Regions from separate parts of the Homo sapiens genome. Here region 2 is linked to region 1. Evidence: promoter capture Hi-C in human tissues and cell types (Jung and others, 2019). All regions are on one chromosome and are shown on one strand. Each heading gives the region's core, a stretch centred on a gene start or on the middle of the fragment in contact. The rest is flanking DNA. Distances are from core to core; before and after follow the strand shown.

Region 1 (5,781 bases), core at 1,474-3,973:
AGATGATAGATTTTTTAAAATTTGTCACTTATTTCTTATACTATTATTTCTTATGGTAAACTGTTTACCATGCCTTTGCCCATGTAAACACTTGTAAGATTATAATCACTCCAAAATGAGCAAGTATTGTTATTGCACACATTCTTATCAAGAGAAAAAGAAAATGGCTTGGTGTTCAAGTTTTTCCATGGGTTGAAAAATGCACAAGAACTTAGCAACTTTGGAGGAAAACCAGCTTACTTTTTCTTTGATGCAACCAGAAGATTGCAAATCAATACTTAGCATTAACATTTTAATTGAGAATTAACATCACCATAATTGAAGATGAGGATGAGCATCTTGATGTTCAGGAGAGGGCTATTTGCTTGGGGAGGTCATTACGCTGGAAAGCACAAACACTGGAAAGGGAAAACGCAAATTATGTGTTTTCCTTGGGCATGGACATAAAGTAAACACTTGAACTGGTGGTCAACTGTAATTTTCTTCCAGAGCCAGCAATTCTGGCAACACTACACTTTCGATTTATAGCAAAGCACACAAGTAGCAGTGACTTTGAAAAGAAAGGATAAAAGAATCAATGAAAAAGTTACTAGTTCTTAAAGATCTGTGTCTCATTCGAGGAACTTAAGGACCTCTCCCTCAATCTAAAAGCAGAATGCACTCTTGCTGCTTACTCCCAGCATGCCCTCAGCTGTTCCTAATTACTCCTGGAGGAAGGCAATGATATTTGAGTCTGGGTTATCAACAATCCTTTAATTTTTTATTTTTATTTTTTTCCCTGGGATTTCGAACCAATATACTCCTAGCCTGAACAACATAGAACATTTCCTTTCCATTTTGGTAGAAATTATTTTTTAATGTAAATTATATTGTGTTCTATTTGTTTCCAATGTCTTGAAAAGTTCAATCACTTCTCCAAATTCTCCGAATAAACATAAGAAAATATCTCTCCCCAGCACTACCCGGTCCCCCAGTATCACCATCCTAAAGGCACTTCCACTTCCTCTATCATCAGGGAAGGAGTGTGCAGTTCTGATTTAGCTCCTCAGTGGAGTAAAGGGAATTTAGAGGAAGGGGGATTTCTGCAGAAATTGTCAGTTACACAAGTAAGTTCCTCTTGGTTCCCCGTTTCATCAAAAGTGAAAAACTGTTCACAGGAGTGCCCATGTCCCCTGTTTCCCTATGCATCACTAGAGCCAAGAGGGGACTCCGCCAGCAAGGCACCCTCTGCTCTGTCCCGCAGATCACAGTCCCCGACTTTCACCCCATTGTTTGTGCAATGTGCAGAACTGGAGCCCAAAGCAGCGGGCTCAGGATCACTCTCCAGGCCCGGCGGGCCCATAGACTCCTTCCTTGGCTGGGAAGAGGGGCTTTCGTGAAAGCAGAGCTTGACAAGCCCCAGTACTGTCATGGTCAAGATCACCAACACTACTACTGCTGTGCTCACAAATATGAAGACCACGGCAGAGGAGGAGTCGAAAGCCTGAGGAGTGGCAGAGGAAGTCGTAGAATTAAACTTGGAAATCACGCTCCCTGATGGGGTGATAGTGGCCTTTGACTCGGCTTGAAGGGACATTTGAAGGGTAGACATCGTGCTCTGTGATCCCCATCGAGGAATCTCAGGAATAGATGTTACTGAATTGTCTTGTTCAGGGACAAGTGGTGTCTCTCCCAGCTTCTCGTCGACCCTGATTGGCCATGTTCTCTGCGGCACGGGGCTGGTTGCAGTGGCCGGCGGGCGCCTGGTGGGCACCCCGGTCCCCCCAAGGGTCGGCTGTCCTTCCCCACTGGTCACACAAGAGCGGCCGTCCTTCCCCAGCTCGAAGCCCGTAGCACATTCGCAGGCAAAGCCTCCCAAGTCGTCTAGGCAGTTAGGGAGCTCTGCGCATTTGCCAGCACGGAGGTACCTCCCGGGGCAGGGACACAACACATCGCCCGAGAGTTTGTCCCAGCGAGCGCCGATTTCGTCCGCGATGCAAGTAACTGAGATCGGGAGCTGTCCCCGGCAGAGCGCACTCACCTCGGTCCCAGGTGGACTGAAGTCCAGAGCGGCGCTGTGCAGCTGGAAGGGCGCGCGATAGCTCAAGTTAGAGGCGGCCCCGGGGCGCGGCGCAGGACACAAGACCTCAAACTGGTACTTGCACAGGTAGCCGTTGGCGCGCAGGTGGCATCGCATCTCCTTCCAGCCTGCGGGCTCGACCCCACCGGTGGCCTGGAGTACCGCGCATCTCCGCGCGGTGCAGGAGCGTTGGGGCTCCTCCACCCACTGCAGCGTGTCGCTTTCGAGACCGCCGGGGTCGGAGGACAGCCAGGAGAAACCCCGCAAAGGCTCGTTCTCCAGGGTGCAGTGGGAACGCCTGCGCTCCAGTGCGACCCAGAACAGCAGGTCTTTGGAGCCCCCTCCGGGCCCTGGGCCTGCCCGCAGGAGCGCGAGCACAGCGCGCAGCTCGGCGCCCGCACGCACGGTGCTGAGCGCCCCACCTCGCAGGATGCAGGCCTCCTCGGCCGCCTGCCGCTTCATGGTAGCGTGGTGCAGGCTGTAGCAGGCCCCCGAGGCCGAGCAGCCAGCACGGTCGGCAGTGGGGTGTTCGCCGCCGCCCGGCCCGGGCCAGAGCGCCTGCCAGAGGAGGCACAGGGCGAACGCCGGCCTCATTCTCTGAGGCCCCGCACGCAGAGCTGCTCCCAACTTGGATCTGTCCCGCTCGAGGACGCAGAGCTGTGTCTGGAGCGCGGTCACCGCCCTCTACAGCTGGCTTCCCCAACCCGGTTCCCCCTCCCTTCCCCTCCGCCCTCGCTCCCGACGGACCCCCCAACTGCCAAGAATCCCCCCGCGGGCCCAGCGGCCAACAGTTTCCCTTAGGCCGCGACAGGAAATGTGTGCGGAGCGCTGCCAGGCCCGGTGCAGCCCTGAGTTATTCTGGGGTCAGGAACACAGCTGGCGCCGGGTACAGGGGACGCAGTCGACTAGAAGGTCAAACACCCTGCTTAGAGCAAGAGGAGAAATTCGCCACTGGGATGAAGTGTGTGGTTTTTCTCCGTTCAGGGAGTTTCATCAGGACCGCAGAACCCATAACACGTAAGCGAACATAGGCAGGAAGGACTTGAGAAAGGAACTGGCTTATGATTATAAGACCACGCCCGTCTATTGTGTTTCTGTCCGGAGCTGTGGAGTTAGCGTCAGAATAATTCGTAGACGGCTCCAGTGTTTGGGGGGCCTGTGCCTGTGGGGGAAAAATATGTTGTGAAACAACTTAGCAACTGCTTTTGCCACCAGAGGCAGCACTATTTAACCGCATATCTCTCTATGGGTCTTTGCTTCTCTATTATGTCAAGAGATTTCAGGAGTCCTAACTACTAAAGAATTTGGAGTTGTTTGGGTATTTTAAATGGGAAATTCTGCTTCTTCCATCAGCACTTGCTTTAGAAATTTATTTTTCACTTCCACGTGTTTCTCTTTGAGTTAGACCATATTGATTCATTACAGAAAGGAAATGTATTTCTAGGACTAAATGAAAAATAATGACCATAGATCTTAACAGTTAGGTTGTTAGCTTTCCTTGCCACTGTATTGGTTCAAAAATTCTTCAAGTTTATAGGTTATACATAAATGAGTTCGTGGCCTTATAAATATTCGAGAACAACTGCCCTATGTGTGATTTTAGCCTTGAACTATTTTAGTATCATTTTCTCCTATGATTGAGTGGCAGCATTTATAATAGTAAGTTGTAAACATCTCCTTTAAGGAAAATTAGAGTTCCTTAAGAAATTAAAATGTTTATTCCATTATAATGAATATTGTATACTGTCAAAAAATATCTTGTAATTTGAAAGATGGGTGAGCCAATTTCTTTAGAATTCCAGTGGGTGTTTTGTTTTAATATAAACATTTCAACTCAGTGGGAAGTGGCAAGGAATTAAAGATGAATAAAGAAGTAAAGGTTAAAAACTGTACTGTTATGAAAGGATTTCTTGTTAGCAACTTAGACAATTCAGTATCAGTTTAGAAAACGTACATTCTATCTTGGTTCATAATGGCCAAATACGTTGCCATCAGAAATACATAGAGAGTTTCAGCTAAGCCCTCTTAGAGATGTCTGATGCTTTTAAATATCTTTAATCAGAATGAAAGTTGCCATTCCATGGATAATGCATATAAGCTCACTTTGTTTTACTGCATTCAGGTTGATGAGGGGTGGGAGGGAAGGTTTCAGGATCACATCTGTATGCTTCCATCTTATTTTTACCATAACTCTCATTCTTCTTTCCTCCTGGAAATTCCATGTATCTTAACAAACAACAGTAAGCCTATGAGTCATCATCATACTTACCTTGCTTTTGCTGAGTATGGAGCTTTGCACTAGGATTTCTCTCCTGCCCTATTTCCCAATTTAAAGAACATTCCTTAGTCCTTCCTTCAGATGTCTGAGAATCACCTTAAACGTGGCTTTGCGTTTAAATTAGGTAACTTAGTGTCTTATAAGAAAGAAACATGAAAATCCAGAAATCAAATTGAATGGTTTTTAAAAAATACTTAGTCACTTGGGCCAGCTCTCTATAGACCATTGCAATCTTATGACTGTGTTTGTAAATGTGTCCATGTAGTGCAATATTTTTAATAAAATCTTTTTCAAACTTAAGTAGTCAATGGAAATTTCTTAGATAGCTTTAAAAATCGTTTGGGATGAGATGAGGTGTCTACAGTAAGAAAGAATGAATAGCTGGAAAGCTTAAGTAAATACATGATCTCACTCCCTGACATTCTGTCTAGGGGAGTGGGATTATAGCAGAGAACACATTGGCCATAACGACTATATGAGAGTACTGACCATGACCATGACCATATCATGGAATGACACAAGAGTTAGAAAAAATTAGCTCAAAGTAGGACGTAAATAGTTTTGTAATTAGTTTGAAATAGACAGTTTATCTGACCAAATTAGAAATGGAGGAAAGTTTCTATTTTTTAATAATATTTATTAAGATAATAATATAGAACCATTTTACCCCCACTGGATTCCAAATGCCTAAAAATCTTATAATACCAAATGTGAATCTATTGGCTCTTTTACATGTTACAGATTAGAGCAACCACTTTGGAAAAATTTGACACTTTTTTTCACTAAAATTGAATATTTGCAAACTCTAGCACTTCCATGATAAGGTATAAAACTAAGAGAAATTTTTGCACATGTACAACAGAAGATATGTAAAAAATGTTTATAGTGACACTATTCATATTAACAAAACGTTGAATCAATCAAAATATCCAAAAACAGTATAAAAATAAACTGTAGTATATTCACTAATTTAATATTATATAGGAGTAAAAATTAGTACAATATAGTGGCAAGTAACAATATGAATTTATTTTAGCAATACAATGTTAATGGACAGAAGTTCCAAAAACGATACAGAGTCTGACATTTTTATACAATTAAAAGAACAGTACTAGATATATGTTTGTGTATTCTTTAGAAAAATAGTTACAATAAAATGAGACAAAAGAAACAATAAACATAAGATTCTTAGTGATGCGCCTTTTGGGTGAGAGGAAAGAGAAGGATGGAATGTTAGGGGAACTAGCAGGCTTGATATGGGCTGTTGATAGAGTCCTAGCTTTTGTTTTGTGCAGTGGCTTTGTGTCACTACCCAAATAATGGAATCTTTATTCCATTATTAAAAATAAATAATTAGTAATGAACAAATAAATCAAAATGGCTATATCTGGATAAATAAGTGAATGGACATGAAGCAGGAATTAAAATTAATTTAATTCTGAGT
Region 2 (5,781 bases), core at 1,844-4,343, 46 kb after region 1:
ATTGAGGTAGCATTCATATGGCAACTTCATATGACTTGATGTGAGTAAAAGAGATTTCTGCTGGAGGATGGGGAAGTGGTCTGCATGAGACAAAAGCTAAAATTATAACTTTGGGGAACTTTTGGAGGCTGAGGTCAGAGAAATCTAAGGAGTTTCTAGTGCAGAGTCCTAGAAATAAAAGGTGAAGAGATTTTTGGTGCCTGATCCCTCGTGTAAGAAACATAAAAGTCTTCACTACATCCTAACAGTAAGTAAAAAGCTGAACAAACTGAAACATCAGCAACTCTTCTTAGATTCATCAGAGAAGTGAGGTCACAGGGCAAACCACTGCACCCCAAAATTGGAGAGACAGACAGGTGAATACTGAGACTCACAACTTAAGGGAGCAGAAATCCATGAGCAAAATCCTCTGTGGGAACTAGTGCCAGGGAAGGCAAACCCAAATTGTAATTGATGACTTGCCGATTGCTGTACGCTCAGTGTGGACAAGCCTAAGAGATGAAAACTCCAGGGGGACCCAGCTTGGGGTAGAGAGGACTCATACTTTTGTGAACTTTATCTCCAGAGGCTATACCAGGTTCTAAAAATGCATATCAGAGAAAAATACCCTCCAGGAGAGGACAGATAGGGAATTGGGAGAAAGTGATCATTTTCTTTTTCTTTTTTCTTTCTTTTTTTTGAGACCGAGTCTCGCTCTGTCGCCCAGGCTGGAGGGCAGTGGTGCGATCTCGGCTCACTGCAAGCTCCGCCTCCTGGGTTCACGGCATTCTCCTGCTTCAGCCTCCCGAGTAGCTGGAACTACAGGCGCCCGCGCCTACACCCAGCTAATTTTTTGTATTTTTAGTAGAGACGGGGTTTCACCGTATTAGCCAGGATGGTCTCGATCTCCTGACCTCGTGATCGCCCGCCTCGGCCTCCCAAAGTGCTGGGATTGCAGGCGTGAGCCACCGCGCCCAGCCCAAAAGTGACCATTTTCAAATATACCAGAGCATTCTGTTCTTAACAAGACCTGACCTCAAGATGATTTTTTTTTTATCCTAACTGACTTGGGGGGAAGAAAAATAGCCAACTCCCATCCCTTCTATCCTGAACTACCTACGGTGCTGAAAAAAAAATACCAATCTGAGAAGCACTTGTGAAGCTCACAATTCAGTAGCACAAGCTCTGTAAATAACTGAAACCTAATCATGTAATCATACAACACTTCTCTTCCTTCTACATCTCGCCACCACATTACTAAAAGTCTATTTACCAGAGTTCCTTCTACACAGTACATCTTGTCCACCTTTCAACAGCACCAAAAAAATGCAAGGCACACTAAAAGGCAAAAAGCACAGTTTGAGCAGTCATTGCGAGCATCAGAACGAGACCCAGATACAGCAGGGATGTTGGAATCATCAGAGCATAAATTTTAAAAATAATTATGATTAATAAGCTAAGGGCTGTAATGAGAAAAGTAGACAACGTGCAAGAACAGATGAATAATATAAATAGAAAATAGAACTTCTTAGATAGAAGCGAAAATAAATGCTAGAGATAAAAAACACTGTAATTGAAATGAAGAGACCTTTGATGGGCTTATTAGTAGATTGGACATGGCTGAGAAAAGAATCTCTGAGCTCGAGGATGTGACGATAGAAACTTCTAAAACTGAAAATTAAAAAAAAAAATTGAAAAAAGTAGAACACATATCCAAGAACTGTAAAACAACTACAAAAGATGTAATATCCATGTAATGGGAAAACCAGAAGGAAAAGAAATAAAAGGAAACAGAAGAAATATTTGAAGCAATAATGACTGAGAATTTCCTCCTGAAATGACACCAAACTACAGATCTAGGAAGCTCAGAGAACATCAGGCAGAATAAATGCCCAAAACACTACACATAGGAATATTATATTCAAACTACAAAAAAATCAAAGATAGTGAAAAAATCCTAAGAGAAGTTAGAAGAATACGAAACCTTAGTTATAGAAGAGCAAAGATAAGAATTATATCTGACTGCTCCTTAAAAACCATGCAAATAGGAAGAAAGTGGAGTAAAATATTTAAGATTTTGAGAGAAAATAAGCACCAACCTAGAATTCTAAGGTTTGCAAAATTATTCTTCAAAAGTAAAGGGAAAAGTCCACCTCAGAGAGAAGGAATATGTTGCCAGTAAAGCTGTCTTGCAAGAAATCTTAAAATAAGTTTTCTAAAAGAAGGAAACTGATATTGTTCAAAAACTTAGAACTGTATAAGGAAAGGAAAAACATCAGACAATGAATAAGTAGAGGCAAAACTAAAATACTTTTCTCATTCTTAATTGATGTAATGGATAACAGTTTGTTCTAAATAATAGCAATAATGCATTTGATAATTACATTGTATATATAAGTGAAATGAATGACATCAATGATGTAAAAGACATGAGGAGGAATTAGGGATATTTTGTTTTAATAAAGTACTTGCACTGCCTGTGAAGTGGTATAGTGTTATTTGACAGCAGACTTTTGTTAGCTGTAAAGGTGTGTTGCAAACTCTAGGACAACCGCTAAAAAAAAGTAACAAAAGAAATATTATTGATGTGCTAAGAAAGAAGAGAAAATGGAATCATATAAAATGTTCAGTTTAAATCACAAAAGGCAGAAGAAGAGTAGAACATAAAAAAAGGGGGAAAAGGACAAAGACAATAACTAGAAAATGATAGCAAATATGGTAGATATTAATCCAGCTATATCAATAATAGTAGTCTAAATACACTAATCAAGACAGGAGAGAGAGCCAAGATGGCTGACTAGACACAGCCAGAAGGAACAACTCTTACCAAAAGACCAGGACATCAGGACGACTGGCACACTTTGAGCAGATCTTCAGAGGGAAAACACTGAGAGTGGACCAAGGGAGGACACAGACATTGGACTGATGGGAGAGGAAGCTGGGAACGCTGGGGCTGCAAAGCACTGGGACCTACTGCAGGCCTCCAGTGACTCCTGGGGAAGGAGTGAGTTGAACAGGTGAGGAGTGGCTCACTCTCACCACAGACCTCTGGAATCCTAGCTGCAGAAAGCCCACCATCCACATGGACACTGGAGCTGGCAGGGAGAGCTGTTTAGAGAGATGGCAGGGGCAGGACTCCAGCCTGTGTGGAACCTATAGGGTTTGGTGCAGGAAGGTCTGCAATGGAGCATGGCCAAGAATGCTCAACCCCCAACGCTCTCCAAGCTCCTCTAGGTGTCCCTAGCCTTTGAGTGACTGTTGAACCTGGACAGAGCAAGAACATCTTGTCTATGAAATGGGGTTCCCTGTTTCCTAGCCTCTCCTGGACAACCAGCCTACCCACCCCCAATTACAGCACTGCCTTGGATGCACAACCAGGGTGATTCTCAGGTGCCCTCATCATAGCTCCTTTGCTGGTACCATCCCTGACCATTGGAGAGCTCCAGCTTCTCTGACTCATACACGTCCTGCCCCCACTACAGCCTCCCCTTGGGTCTTTGCCACATGCACTCACCCATGGTCTTCTCCCACTGCTTTGCAAGTGCATTCATGTAACCAAACCTCACTATCACATCCCCAATGGTATGCATGTGTGTGCACACCTCACCACTTCACCAACCATCAGAGCAAGTTCATCCTGCCACCCCACCCACCCTTGCTGGCAGTCCACCCCTACTGAGGTGTGGGCAGCCCACTGCACTGCTTCCACTGCTGCTGCTGGAGTAAGTGCTTGCACAGGTGCTGGAAACTCACCCCTGCTAGCACCCTGCCCAACTGACACCCTACCCCCTGCCAGTGCCCCAGAGTTAGAGCACACAGCTGAACAGCGCTGAGTTGAGCCTTGGTCTCCCGAAATCTTCCAGAATTGAAGATAGTCTACTAAACCCACCTGATATCACAGTCAAACTCTCAAGGGCACTAAAAATAAAAGTTAAAAAAAAAATCCAAAGGACAGCAACTTCAAAGATAAAAGGACCATCAGCCCACACAGATCAGAAAGGTCAGCACAAGAACTCTGGCAACTCAAAAAGCTAGGGTGTTTTCTTGAGTCCAAATGATTTCACTAGCTCCCCAGCAATAGTTCTTAACCAGGCCAAAATGATAGACATAGAATTTAGAATATGGATAGAAACAAAGATCATCAAGATTCAGGAGAAAGTTGAAACTGAATCCAAGAAATCTAAGGAATAAATAAAACAATATTTGAAGATATTGTCCACAAAAATTTCCCCAACCTCAAGAGAGCAGCCAATGTTCAAATTCAGGAAATGCAGAGAACCCCTCCAAGATGCTATACAAGGTGACCATCCCCAAGAAACAAAGCCCTCAGATTCTCCAATGTTCATATGAAAGAATAAATATTAAAGACAACTAGAGAGAAAGGGCAAGTCACCTACACAGGGAACTCCATCAGGCTAACAGCAGACCTTCCAGCAGAAAACTTACAAGTGAGTAGAGATTGGGGTCCATATTCAGCACTCTTAAAGAAAACAAACTCCAATGAAGAATTTCATATCTGGCCAAACTAAGCTTCATAAGCAAAGAAGAAATAAGATCCTTTTCAGGCAAGCAAATGCTAGGGTAATGTGTTACCACAAGATCTGCCTTACAAGAGGTCATTAAGGGAGTGCTAAATATGGAAACAAAAAACCATCACTAGCAACCACAAAAACACACTTAAGTACATAGATCATTGACAATATGAAGCAACTACACAATTAAGTCTACATCGTAACCAGTAACACCACAATAACAGGATCAAATCCACATGTATCAATATTAACCTTCAATGTAAATGGGCTAAGTGCCCTAATTAAAAGGCACAGAGTGACAAGTTCGATAAAGAAGCAAGACCCAACTGTATGCTGTCTTCAAGAGATTAATCTCACATTCAATGACACTCATAGGGTTAAAGTAAAGAAATGGAAAAAAATCTACCAAGCAAACAGACAACAACAAAAATCAGGGGTTGCTATTCTAATTTCAGACAAAACAAGACTTTAAACCAACAATGATCAAAAAGATAAGAGCATTACAGAATGGCAAAGGGTTCAACTCAACAGGAACTCTTAACTATCCTAAATATATATACACCCAACACAGGAGCATCCAGATTTATAAAACAAGTTCTTAGAGATTTAAAAGAGCCTTAGATAACCACATGATAATAGTGGGAGACTTCAACACCCCCATGGCAGTATTAGATAGATCACTGAGGCAGAGAAACAACAAAGACATTTGGGACCTAAACTTGACACTTGACCAAATGGACCTAAAAGACATCTACAGAACTCTCCAACCAAAACCAACAGAATATATATTATTCTCATCTGCACATGGCACATACTGTAAAATCAACCACACAATTGGCCATAAAACTATTTTCTGCAAATTAAAAAAAAATGAAATTATACCAACAACACTCTTAGATCACAGTGTAATAAAAATAGAAACCAATGCTAAGAATATCACCCAAAGCCATACAATAACATGGAAATTAAACAACCTGTTCCTGAATGACTTCTGGGTAAATAATGAAATTAAGGCAGAAAGCAAGAAATTCTCTGAAACTAATGAGAACAAAGATACAACATGCCAGAATCTGTGGGACACAGCTAAAGTAGTGTTAAGAGGAAAGTTTATAGCATTAAATGCCCACATCAAAAAAGTAGAAAGATCTCAAATTCACAGCCTAACACCACACCTTGCCTTACAAGAGGTCTTTAAGGGAGTGTTAAATATGAAAAAAAACCATCACTAGCAACCACAAAAACACACTTAAGTACATAGATCATTGAAGAA

The links. Contacts are between HindIII fragments. The study calls those that stand out against the background at their distance.
Region 2: a contact is called between a fragment that was not itself captured here and the fragment with the promoter of CLEC14A in region 1, in 1 of the 25 tissues and cell types used here (neural progenitor cells).

Annotation. Positions count from the first base shown.
Region 1 is chr14:38,253,370-38,259,150 of GRCh38, forward strand. It overlaps CLEC14A (C-type lectin domain containing 14A), which reads right to left and starts at 2,724. Exons shown (of 1, transcript NM_175060.3): 1 at 631-2,724. The coding sequence starts at 2,653. The coding sequence ends at 1,181. It overlaps LOC112268136 (a long non-coding RNA gene), which reads left to right and starts at 2,676. Exons shown (of 5, transcript NR_169588.1): 1 at 2,676-3,076. RefSeq lists an enhancer at 1,906-2,533. The HindIII fragment of the contact is 7,223 bases long and covers 1-5,781 here.
Region 2 is chr14:38,298,565-38,304,345 of GRCh38, forward strand. LOC112268136 (a long non-coding RNA gene) reads left to right here. Exons shown (of 5, transcript NR_169588.1): 4 at 1-40. Among named protein-coding and RNA genes, the nearest start is that of CLEC14A, 45 kb to the left of the region's middle. The HindIII fragment of the contact is 5,182 bases long and covers 503-5,684 here.